Regions from separate parts of the Homo sapiens genome. Here region 1 is linked to region 2. The links are contacts of gene promoters, found by promoter capture Hi-C in blood cells and fetal thymus (Javierre and others, 2016). All regions are on one chromosome and are shown on one strand. Each heading gives the region's core, a stretch centred on a gene start or on the middle of the fragment in contact. The rest is flanking DNA. Distances are from core to core; before and after follow the strand shown.

Region 1 (5,614 bases), core at 2,780-5,279, 95 kb after region 2:
AGATCCCACCTGGAAGTTATGAAATACTTGCAGGTAGAGATTAAACAAGGTGTCTCTGGAGGGTATGACGGATGTGCTGTGAACGTCTCTCCACCACATGGGAAGCTTGACAACTGTCTCATACAGATGGAGCTTGATGTGTGCTTCAAAAGTAATCTACAGGCAACAGCGTAGCTGAAAATCCTTGGCAGGGGAAGAGGTAAGTTTGGGAAGTGCCTGTGCGCCCTCTAGTGGCAGATCTAAGGGGAGCGTATTCTATGGGCCAGATGTGGCCACGCAGAGCCCACCTGGGGTTTTCTTAAATCCTTTGGGGCCAGGAGATCTTATCAGAGGGAGGCTAAATCTGTCCTCCCAGAATCAGAGACATAAGATGCAATTCTGCATGAATCTAGAGAACAGCTTGTGAGAGAGGGCTCTGAAGAACCCACAAATTACCCCCACAGAATGGGCATGAGCAGATGGTGTGGGGCATGGGAGAATGAAAGTGTTTGCAGATCACACCCCAGGAATCTTGCTTGTTCAACATAACGACTTTTTTTTTTAACTTGGTGTAAAGGGAAAGTTATATAATATTAAAATTTTTCATTAAAAAATCATAGTCTGACGAATCTTTTTTTAATTTCTGGGAAAATGTAAACCCTATTTAATTCACCCTGTGACCCATAGAGAAGTCATTTGTTCACATTTTTTATGCTCACATTTATAGATCCTTTTCCTTTGCTCGGAAGGAAACAACTCAAGTGATTTTCTAATTGTAAAAAAATTCACCAAGTATAGAAAAAGTCTAAATAAGAAAGTAAAAAGGCCGGGTGTAGTGGCTCACGCCTGTAATCCCAGCACTTTGGGTGGTCGAGGTGAGAGGGTTGCTTGAGGCCAGGAGTCCAAGATCAGCCTGGGCAACATAGCAAGACCCCAACCCTACTAACAAAATAATAATAATAATAGAAGTAAAAATAACTTATAACTTTAACTCTCAGTGTTAAATACTGGTAACACCTGGCAACATTTTCTTTTGTTTTGGGGGGTTGTTGGATTTTTTGTTGTTGTTGTTTTTTGTTTCTTGTTTTGTTCTTGAGTCTTGTTCTGTCACCCAGGCTGGAGTACAGTGGCCCAATCTCGGCTCACTGCAACCTCTGCCTCCTGGGTTCAAGTGATTCTCCTGTTTCAGCCTCCTAAGTACCTGGGGTTATAGGTGTGCACCAACACGCTTGGCTAACTTTTGTATTTTTAGTAAAGACAGGGTTTCACCATGTTGGCCAGGCTGGTCTCGAACTCCTGACCTCAAGTGATCTGCCCACCTCCACCTCCCAAAGTGCTGGGATTACAGGTGTGAGCCACCACGTCCAGTTGAATTTCTCACATTCTAAAGTGCATTGATTATAACAGATTTTGGAGAAAAATAATGCATTAAATATATGCATTGATTTTTCTGGTTCATTCTGTCTTTGCGTGCTGGCTTATGACTTACTCTGGCCACACACTTTATGGCAGAAAATGCCCACTCTTTGCTCTCACATTTATATGGTACAGCTACAAGTCACATAAACAAACTAATCTCTTTTTCTTTTTATCTTCCACTGTCTTCTCCTCCTCCTCTTCCTTCTTTTCCTTCTTCTCCTCCACTACTTCTCCTTCCCTGCCTCTCTCTCTTTCTCTATTTTCCCAATTTAAATTATCAACAGGTGATTCTGGCAAGCCTCATTTGAGTTAAGTGCCCACTTAGTCAAAAAATCAACCAGGATGCCAGAAGCCCCCTTGTGTATTGTGGGGGGTAGGTGGAGTGGCAGAGGGCATTTAATTTGGGAATGAGGCAGACATTCCAGAATTCGTCTGCTATGAGAGCAGTGTGACTTGCACTTGATTGATGCTCGATATTTTCAATTGATTTGAACCAAGTTGAGAGCTTGTAAGAGTTTAATAATTCCCACGATGATCTAATTTCGGGGTCAATTTCATTTTGAACAGTTATGTAATAGGAATACTAAATAACCAACATTTTTTTTTTTTCTGAGACATTGTCGCGTTCTGTCACCCAGGCTGGAGTTCAGTGGCACGATCTCAGCTCACTGCAACCTCCACCTCCCAGGTTCCAGCGATTCTCCTGCCTCAGCTTCTCGAGTAGCTGGGACTACAGGCGTGTGCCACCATGCCTGGCTAATTTTTTGAATTTTTAGTAGAGACGGGGTTTCATCTTGTTTGCCAGGCTAGTCTCAAACTCCCGGCCTCAGGTGATCCACTTGACTTGGCCTCCCAAAGTGCTGGGATTACAGGCATGAGCCACCACACCCAGCCAATAATCAACATTTAATGCAGCTATATTCATGTCATCATTTTCACAACTCATCATCCCAAGTTGTAACTAAATACTAACACAGTGATAAGTGAAAGTCTACGTGCTTCCTTAAAACAACTCTCAGAATGTTCAGTGAACAAAACCAAATTTCTTAGTTCTTGGAAAACAAAACAAAAAAACAAAACTTCAGAGTTTGTTAGGAAATTTGCAAAATTCTTGGCGTTCAAATCACTCGCACAAAGCAATACTGGGATGAGTCAAGTATAATTGAATCAGGAACATATGGATTAAATTCTCCTTTAAATACACATGGATATAAAGACGAGGGGAAAGAGAACCTGCCAAGTTTGTTACCAAAACAAAATGCTTTCAAAATAACTTGAGACAGTCAACAGACCACAAACACAGCTGTGTTCTCTTATGTCTAAAAAAAAATGAATTTTCCCTTCAATGTCTAGATATTTTAATTAGATTTTTGTTGAGTGCCTATGGCGTGTTAGGCACTTTAGAGAGCTCATCAAGTCATGTTCCCTACTTGGGAATGTGAAGTCTTTTTTAAAAAACTTCAACTTTTGGCCGGGCGCAGTGGCTCACACCTGTAATCCCAGCACTTTGGGAGGCCGAGGTGGGCAGATCATGACATCAGGAGATCAAGACCATTCTGGCTAACACAGTGAAACGCCATCTCTACTAAAAATACAAAAACTTAGCCAGGCGTGGTGATGGGCGCCTGTAATCCCAGCTACTTGGGAGGCTGAGGCAGGAGAATCACTTGAATCCGGGAGGCAGAGGTTGCAGTGAGCTGAGATCACACCACTGCGCTCCAGCCTGGCCGACAGAGCGAGACTCTGTCTCAAAAAACATTTTTTTTCCACTTTTATTTTAGATTCAGGAGGTACATGTGCAGATGTGTTACCTGCGTATATTGTGTGATGCTGAGAGTTGGGGTGTGACTGATCCAGTCACCCAGGTAGTAAGCATAATACACAATAGGTAGTTTTTCAGCGTTTGTACCCTTTCTCCCCATTCCTGCTCTATTGGATCTCAGTATCTATCATTGCCGTCTGTACGTCCATGTGTACCCAATGTTTAGCTCACACTTATAAGTGAGAACGTGTAGTATCTGGTTTTCTGTTCCTGCATTAATTCACTTCGGATAACGGCCTCCAGCTGTATCTATGTTTCTGCAAAGGACATGGTCTCGCTCTTTTTTATGGCTGCATAGTATTCCATGGTGTATATGTACCACATTTTCTTTATCCAGACCACCATTAATGGGCACCTAGGTTGATTCTATGTCTTTGCTGTTGTGAATAGTGCTGCAATGAATGTACAAATGCATGTGTCTTTATGGTAGGACAATTTATTTTGGGGAGGAGTATATACCCAGTAATGGGATTGCTGGATAGAATGGTAGTTCTTAGTTCTTTGAGAAATCTCCAAAATGCTTTTCACAGGAGCTGAACTAATTTACATTCCCACCAACAGTGTATATGCGTTCCATTTTCTCTGTATCCTCACAAAAATCTGTAATTTTTTGACTTTTTAGTAACAGCCATTCTGATAGCCATTTTGACTGGTATGAGATGGTATTTCATAGTGGTTTTGACTTGCATTTCTCTGATGATTAGTGATGTTGAATATTTTTTCATGTTTGTTGGCTGCTTCTTTGTCTTATTTTGAGAGTGTCTTTTCATGTCTTTCACCCACTTTTTTTTTGAGGCAAGGTCTCACTCTGTTGCCCAGGCTGGAGTGCAGTGGCATGATCATGGCTCACCATAGCTTCGACCTCCCAGGCTCAAGCAATTTTCCCATCTCAGCCTCCTAAGTAGCTGGAACTATAGGTGGCTATATATCTGGCTAATTTTTAATTTTTTTTTGTAAGAGTGGAGTCTCCCTATATTTCCCAGGTTGATCTCAAACTTCTGGGTCAAGCAATCATCCTGCCTCAGCCTCCCAAAGTGCTGGGTTACAGGCATGAGTTACTGTGCCTGGCCTGCCCACTTTTTAATGGGGTTGTTTTTTGCTTGTTAAACTACCGAAGGGCCTTATAGATTCTGGATACCAGACCTTCGTTGAATCTGTAGTTTGTGAATATTTTCTCCCATTCTGTAGGTTGTCTGAGGAAACATGAACTCTTAATGAAATGATTAGCATCATTCTCTTCCTGGTGTTAAAGCAAGCCAAATATGGCCTGAGAAGGACTCTGTATTTCTCCATTTTTTTTTTTTTTTTTTGAGACGGTTTCGCTCTTGTTGCCTAGGCTGGAGTGCAATGGCGTGATCTTGGCTCACTGCAACCTCTGTCTCCCGGGTTCAAGTGATTCTCCTGCCTCAGCCTCCCAATGGGATTACAAGCATGAGCCACCATGACTGGCTAATTTTTTGTATTTAGTAGAGACTGGGTTTCACCATGTTGGTCAGGCTGGTCTTGAACTCCTGACCTTAGGTGATCCACCCGCCTCGCCCTACCAAAGTGCGGGATTACAGGTGTGAGTCACCGCGCCTGGCCAGGACTCTGTACTTCTATATTTGAGTCCTTGTGGATGAACTGTAACCTAGCTTAATAATCAGACAAGAATGAAAACCTAACTTAGGCGTGTGCACCTTAACAATAACTGAGTCTTGGCCCATCCCAGTGGCCGCACTTCAACTACTCATACACTGCTAAGTGTTCAGACTGTGTTCAAATAAGGCAAATGCCAACCTGTAACCAATCCAGCTGTTTCTGTACCTCACTGCCAATTTCTATACGTCCTTTCCCTTTTTTTGTCCATAAATCTTCTTCCACTATGTGGCTGCGCTGGAGTCTCTGTGAATCTGCTGTGATTCTGGGGGCTGCCCGATTCATGACTCATTCATTGCTCAATTAAACTGCTTTAAATTTAATTCAGCTAAAGTTTTTCTTTTATCACTGGTTTTCCACATCTATTTGAATAATTACTTTTAAAAATCTGTGCAGCAAGAGGCATTCCTCTCAGCCTTGCTTCTGCAATTGATTTTTATGGCCTTAACTGACATGATGGGAGTAAACTTCCTGGAGTGGGTACGCTTGGATTTGGTGTTAACCAGAGAAGTGGTGGATGGCAGGCAAGGCTGGGCCACATGACGAGAGGAGGAACCAACACCAGTTTTACAGACACCAATTTGTGGGGCTGTTTATTGCCACGACAAGGCAATCAGCTTTGCTGATTCATGTTGCTTTTTTCTTTCATGTTTTTAAGACCAGAGTTTTCACAGTCTGGGCAATTTTAGGAGGTTCCAAATTTTTCCATCATTTCCATGTTTGTCTTTGAACAGAGTAAATGATGATGTGGGTCAG
Region 2 (6,243 bases), core at 2,143-4,642:
AGAGCAAGCCTGACTAACAATTTCCTTCACTTTAAATTCAAAATGAAGGAATACCCTTTCCTTCCGAATGTATCTCATTTAACAAAATTCAAGACTTTTTTTTTTTTTTTTTGAGACGGAGTCTCGCTCTGTGGCCCAGGCTGGAGTGCAGTGGCACGATCTCAGCTTACTGCAAGCTCTGCCTCTTGGGTTCAGGCCAATTCTCCTGCCTCAGCCTCCCGAGTAGCTGGGATTACAGGCGCCCACCACCACGCCCGGCTAATTTTTTCTATTTTTTAGTAGAGACAGGGTTTCACCGTGTTAGCCAGGATGGTCTCAATCTCCTGACCTTGTGATCCGCCCGCCTCGGCCTCCCAAAGTGCTGGGATTACAGGCGTGAGCCACCATGCCTGGCCAAAACTCAAGACTTAAGTCATTCATTACAATTTTGTCTGAATTGCAATTAGGAGAGAAACAGCTGCAGTACCTTTGTATCTTTGTCAGTGAAATGTTTATAACAAGGAAAAACAAAAATCTGTTTGAAATCTCCAGTAAGCGCCCCCCAGTGCACCATCTAGTGGAAGTCAGGTAGTGTCATAATTAATTTAAAGAAAAAAGTCACAGAAACTCTGAAAACCATTGGGGGAGGGGGAGAAGTCAAAGCTTCAGGTAAGAATACAAGCAAATACTTTACAAACAGCCAAAATATCTTTCCAGTGTCCCACAATGCAAGAGGGCTGGGCTTATGAGAATAAATGATTCATTTTCTGTATAATCAACAGATGATAAAAGTTCCTTTATGGAAATTTTTGCTTGGGTGCTAGAAATTTTGACAGGAGAGTAAAAGTTAAATAAAGCCACTAAAACATAAATAAGTAAATAAATGCTGGGCTAGAGTGACAGCCTTGTGTAAGAAGAGTTGCCTTATATGTTACATGAATATGTTAAAATGTACATGTGAAACAGAGGTATTAGCCACAAAACAAGAGATAACTTCATGATTAGAACAGTTACATTCAGGCTGGGTGCAATGGCTCACGCCTGTAATCCCAGCACTTTGGGAGGCCAAGGCAGGCAGATCACTTGAGGTCAGGAGTTCGAGACCAGCCTGGCCAACATAGTGAAACCCCATCTCTACAAAAATATTAAAAAAAAAAAAATAGCTGGGCGTGGTGGCATGCGCCTGTAGTCCCAGCTACTCAAGAGGCTGAGGCAGGAGAATCACTTGAACCAGGGAGGCAGAGATCACAGTGAGCCACAGCACTCCAGCCTGGACAACAGAGTGAGACTCCACCTCAGAAAAAAAAAAAAAAAGAGTTCCATTCAGTAATCCATAAGACATTTTCATGTTCCTGATAACTAGTAAATTTAACAAAACCTAACGATTCTCTAGAATTCCCTAAGCCTTAACATCATACAAGCGGCTACTCCCAACTACCCATTTCAGCCTGTCCCACACTAATGCCCAAACTCCTTTGGTCAAGTTATTCTAATTAAGAAATTATTCTTCAATCCGTCTATAAATTTACAGTAAACACTTCCCGAAACAAAGTCATAAGTCATGATCAAAATGCATTACACTTCATTAGTATTTTCCTTCTGCATATCAATTATTTCTATTCAATTCAAAAAAAGGTACCGAAATTCAATGCTGAGCTAGAGATGCAAACACAAATAAGGTTCTCTAATTTGGAAAGCTTCCCAAAATTTAAAATAGAGATTTTCACACAGCATTCCTAACTTTTGTTTGTTTTGCCTGTGTGGAAAATTACCTTTCACCTGAAATTCAAACTAGCTAAGCAACCTGAATGGAAAGAAAAACCTCGCAGATAATATTTCTTTACTTGAAAATAACCATCTCCACCTCTGACCTGTGTATACGGGATCAAATTGGTATGCAGAAGTTGGCTTGATGGCGGGAATCTTACCCAGATTTTGGATTAAATCCATTATAGGTATAAAATAAAGTAGGAGTAAAGTGGGGCAGGATTCCTTTCATTTCTAGGGCTTTCAGTTGACATACCTGTAAAATGGACATGCTATGCACAGCCTGCCTCAGAAGAGTAGGAGGATGGCATACTATATAATTGATAGAGTGCTATGAGCTTCACGATTAAATGGAAATACTGTTTTTATAGAACCAGAGTGAACCTGAGCATAGAAAACTCTCCAAGGGCCATCGCTGTGACATTACCGCTAAAACTCAGTGACCTTCATCAATTCACTTGTAAACAAGCAATATATTGAGCAAGTCAAAGGAAAGGCAGCAACAATTCAAGATACTTCTTTATAAGTAAATCAAATTACGTAATTAATAGCCCAGGATTTACCTGCAAACTATTACTGCCTGACTAGCAGGTGCATCCCCAAAGCCTCGAGTACAGAGACTGTTTTTAGAGAGCCCCCCCTTTTTTAAATGTGAATATTGCTTTTAAAAATTAGAAAAAGAAAAAAATCACAATTCTACTCCCACCCATGGCACAGTGACAGAAACAAGGTCCCACCCCCACAATCCTTTCAAACCTGCACAGGCATTCCTCACGAACACTCCTCCCCCTCATTCCTACCTCACCGCTCCCCACTTCAGCCCAGACAAAGCTGAGTTACTCGGCTGGGTCTACCTGTCACTTAAGAAAAAGCCCCCAAATAGATTCACGCTAAATGCTGCTTTTAATTTTTTAAATAGCAAATAAGTAAATAAATAATGCTATCGTGTAGATTACACGGCCAAACGCCTGTTCTCAGAAAACATGTAATTAACACGACCCAAGTGAAGACGCCTTTCTGGCTTAGGGAAAGAAAAAAAAGAAGCCAGCCAGCTTATCGCTCCCTTTCAGTCGGTTCTTTTCCCCGGGGAGCCGGACTCTGACTCAACTCCGCAGTTTTTCCTCCACCTGTCGGTTCTCCCCGCTCTGGGTCTGCCCCGCCGCCGCCCCCGCCCGGAGTCCCGCGCGTCAACAGGGGTCTCCAGGGGTCCTCAGGGTCCCGCCCGAGGCGGCCCCGCCCCTGCCCCGGCCCCGCCCCCACCTCCTCACAAGGTGCCCGCCGCGGGCTCCCAGGCTGAGGCGCCTAGAGGCCGGCAGGAGGCTCCGGAGGACCGCGGCACCGCTCGGCCCGGTCGCCGGCGCAGGGAGCAGCTTCGGGGGCCGACCCCACCGCCCGAGCCTAGCCCTGGGCTCCGACAGGCGCTCCCCAGAGGCGCCCCATTACCTGCTCTGGGCTGCCGCGGTCCGCGGGCAGGAGGCGCACTCGCTCTGGCCCCTGCAGCCCCGGGCCCGGAGGCAAGGAGGCAGCGACCGCCACCGCCGCAGAGGACAATCGGGAGCCAGCGGGCTCGGCACCGCCGCGGCGGGCGCAGAACGCACGAGCCCAGTGGGAGCCCGGCCCCCGCCTCCAGCCCGGCTAGTAACCAACACGGCCCCCACCCTCGGAGGGGCGGGACCGCGGTTGGAGGGGCGGGGCGGGGCTGCACCGCCCGCGGGTAAGAGGGGCCTGCTGATAGGCTGCGAAGGCGATAGGCGTCTCAGACTTGAAGACGCCTCTCCAGCAGAACTCCCTCATTGGTCGGCAAGAGAAAACAAAGCTGGGCTCTGATTGGTGACAGCTCTGTAGCTCCTCCTCATACCCGCAGTCCCCGCAAGTTCCACCCCTGCCCGCCCGGTTCGCTCGCCCTTGGTTCCCACTCCCAGGTGGCTGCAGACTGGAGTGTGTTTCATGGACGAGCAACCTCCCTGAGGAGAACCCCGGATACGCAGGTTCATTCGCCAGATGCGAGTTTTCTTAAGCCGCTGCGATTCTCTGATTTCAGTATGAACTTGGTGAATAACGTAATCTTTAACTTCCTTTGGATTCAGACAAGTCTCCTAGGTTTAAAAATGCTGCATAAGATTGAGAGGGATATTGTTATGCACGAAAAAAGACATAAGGTGTTTTCACCTTTGGCGACACTGTAGGTGACTTTTTCTTATTACCTTTTTGTGTTCCATATTGAACATGTACTACATGATTAGAAAAAAAAATTCTTAAATAGAAAAATGAGTAGGGTGCGGAGAATGGTAAAGACAAACTTTAAGGAAATCCAGAGAACTGATTCTTTCACAATAGAAGAAAATACAGTAAACATGCTTAATATCTGAGGGCTACCCCGAAAAAACATGAACTGGTATCAGCGCCCTTCAGCTCTCTTAAAGAACTTTACATATGTGACCGAGGTGCCCCCATACTCCTTCCTATCATGTAACCAACACATAATGTGGACAGCACTACACTGCAAACAGAATTACAGGAAGACTCTTATAGGAAGAATTAGAATCCAAAGTACACAATCAATAAAGCTTTAGAAAAAGGGGTAGTAAAAAGCAGAAGACAAAAAAAAATCAGGTAATATAAATTGGAAAGCTCAGCTGATGGAGGGAATCATCAGAAAAAAAATAATGTGACAACACTTCAAGATGTGATAGAGACTTTGAATGGAAAGCTGAAGGGAGAGGAAGGGGATTGAGATAAGGATCAATGACCTGCAGTTAATATGAGCTCTCAGAACACATCCCCCAGAACTGGTGTCAGCCTAGAAGGCAAGAAGCATTTCTCACCTAGGGACCACTCTCACTTAACTCTCTCTAGCTGCCTTAACATTCTGTTTGTTCTTGTCATTCTCGCAAAGTTCTAAAACAGGCTATTTGAAATTAAGCACTTCCCCCCAGCAACTCCGTGAATTACGTAATAGTGAAAAATGGAGATAGACAAAAAGCAAACCTGAGGAAGGAAAGGAATGTTAAGGTAAACATAAACTTAAAGAGAAGTAAGGGCAAAACACCTGATAGAAAGAAGACAAGAAATTCTTTTTTCTCTCTTACTTCCTGAGAATAAAGTAAAGGTCTTTGGAGGACAGAATAACCTTATTGCCTAACAAAAAGAGTTTTTACCAAACCTTTCTAATAATAACTGTAATTCTAAACTGTAGTCTAAAAATACGTGTCCTAAAGTAAGTACTTTGAGCAAATAGTTTTGAGATCTAATATTTTTACATTGTGTAAGGAAAAGAAGAGGAACTTAGCCTAGTATGAACAAACTGTAGGGAATACCCTTCAAAAGTTTCTTCTACAATAACACCTGAAATTCCATCACTAACATTCTTTCACTGGGATTAAATAATGTATGTCTAAGATTATTCTTTTATTCATTTACTCATCAAACGTAATCAATATTAATCATCAAATACTAGATACTGCAATGAACGAGGCTTTCTACTAAGCACTCAGAGTATAGCCTTGAACAAGACAGACTTGCAGCTGTTTTTATCAGAAGATGGACAATGATCCAATAAAAAGATAAACTTCCAGACCGGGATCAGGGCAAAGAAGAAAACAGTGACCAGAGGGATGGGAGACACACTTAATTTTGGGAAAGGAGAAAAATGCTTTAAGGAGAAATGATCTAAGAGAAATGCTCTAAGATTTGAGGCACCACCTAAATAAGAAAACACCAACTTAGCAAAACTCCAGGGCAGATAAAATAGCAAGAACAAAGGACTTGAAGTAGGAAGAAAAGTGATGTATAGCAGGAACAGAGAGAAAGCCAGCATGGGTATCATGGTGCATAAGGAGAGTGCTACTAGACAGGTTGGAGAAGGAGGTGAGGACCTCGTAGGCAATGGTAACTTTGTATTTTGTTACAAGGATTCCTGACGGGCAACATCGAGTTGCTGATAGTGGAGTAAAATCATTATTTTTTTTTTTCCTTTTTCAGAGTCACCAGTAAAATGAGCATTCATTCATTAAGCCAATCATCAGGAATGGATCTAGGAAGAACCTACTGTTTACTAGAAATAGGTTAGATCTGTGGATATAACAATGAATAAGACAAGACTGGTGGATCTATAGAGAAACTATTACTGCACAGGTGATGGGGAAATCAAGAGTACTATGGGGCCAAGGAGACTGTCCTGCAGCAAATGAGGAATAAGCTGAAACATCAGTAGGAGCCATCCCAGAGAAAAGGGACAGGGTTCTAGATCCAGAGAACAACAGAAGAGCATTCAGCGCCTGCAAGGGAGCAGGGGATCTAATGCAAAGCCATTGCATAACCAGTCAACTTTCCCCACATCACAAGATTGCCTAGCCTGGATGGCCCCAGAATGTTGAAACAAATGTCTAATTAGTAACGACATTCTGAATGCTTGGGAGCTGAGCAAAATATGAGGAGAAGCAACCTGATTTTTGTTTCATATTATCATCTCCTTTATTCCAGCAACAAAAGACACTG

Evidence for each region. The method cuts DNA at HindIII sites, captures the fragments that hold promoters and counts their contacts. A CHiCAGO score of 5 or more calls a contact.
Region 1: a contact is called between a fragment that was not itself captured here and the fragment with the promoter of MPP7 in region 2, in 1 of 17 cell types (monocytes). The highest score is 5.4, in monocytes.

The regions. Positions count from the first base shown.
Region 1 is chr10:28,393,923-28,399,536 of GRCh38, forward strand. No RefSeq gene overlaps it. Among named protein-coding and RNA genes, the nearest start is that of MPP7-DT, 94 kb to the left of the region's middle. The HindIII fragment of the contact is 7,853 bases long and covers 104-5,614 here.
Region 2 is chr10:28,299,672-28,305,914 of GRCh38, forward strand. MPP7 (MAGUK p55 scaffold protein 7) reads right to left here and starts at 3,393. Exons shown (of 17, transcript NM_001318170.2): 1 at 3,190-3,393. MPP7-DT (MPP7 divergent transcript) reads left to right here and starts at 3,498. Exons shown (of 2, transcript XR_930772.3): 1 at 3,498-4,758; 2 at 5,728-6,243. RefSeq lists a silencer at 2,940-3,579. The HindIII fragment of the contact is 2,637 bases long and covers 1,675-4,311 here.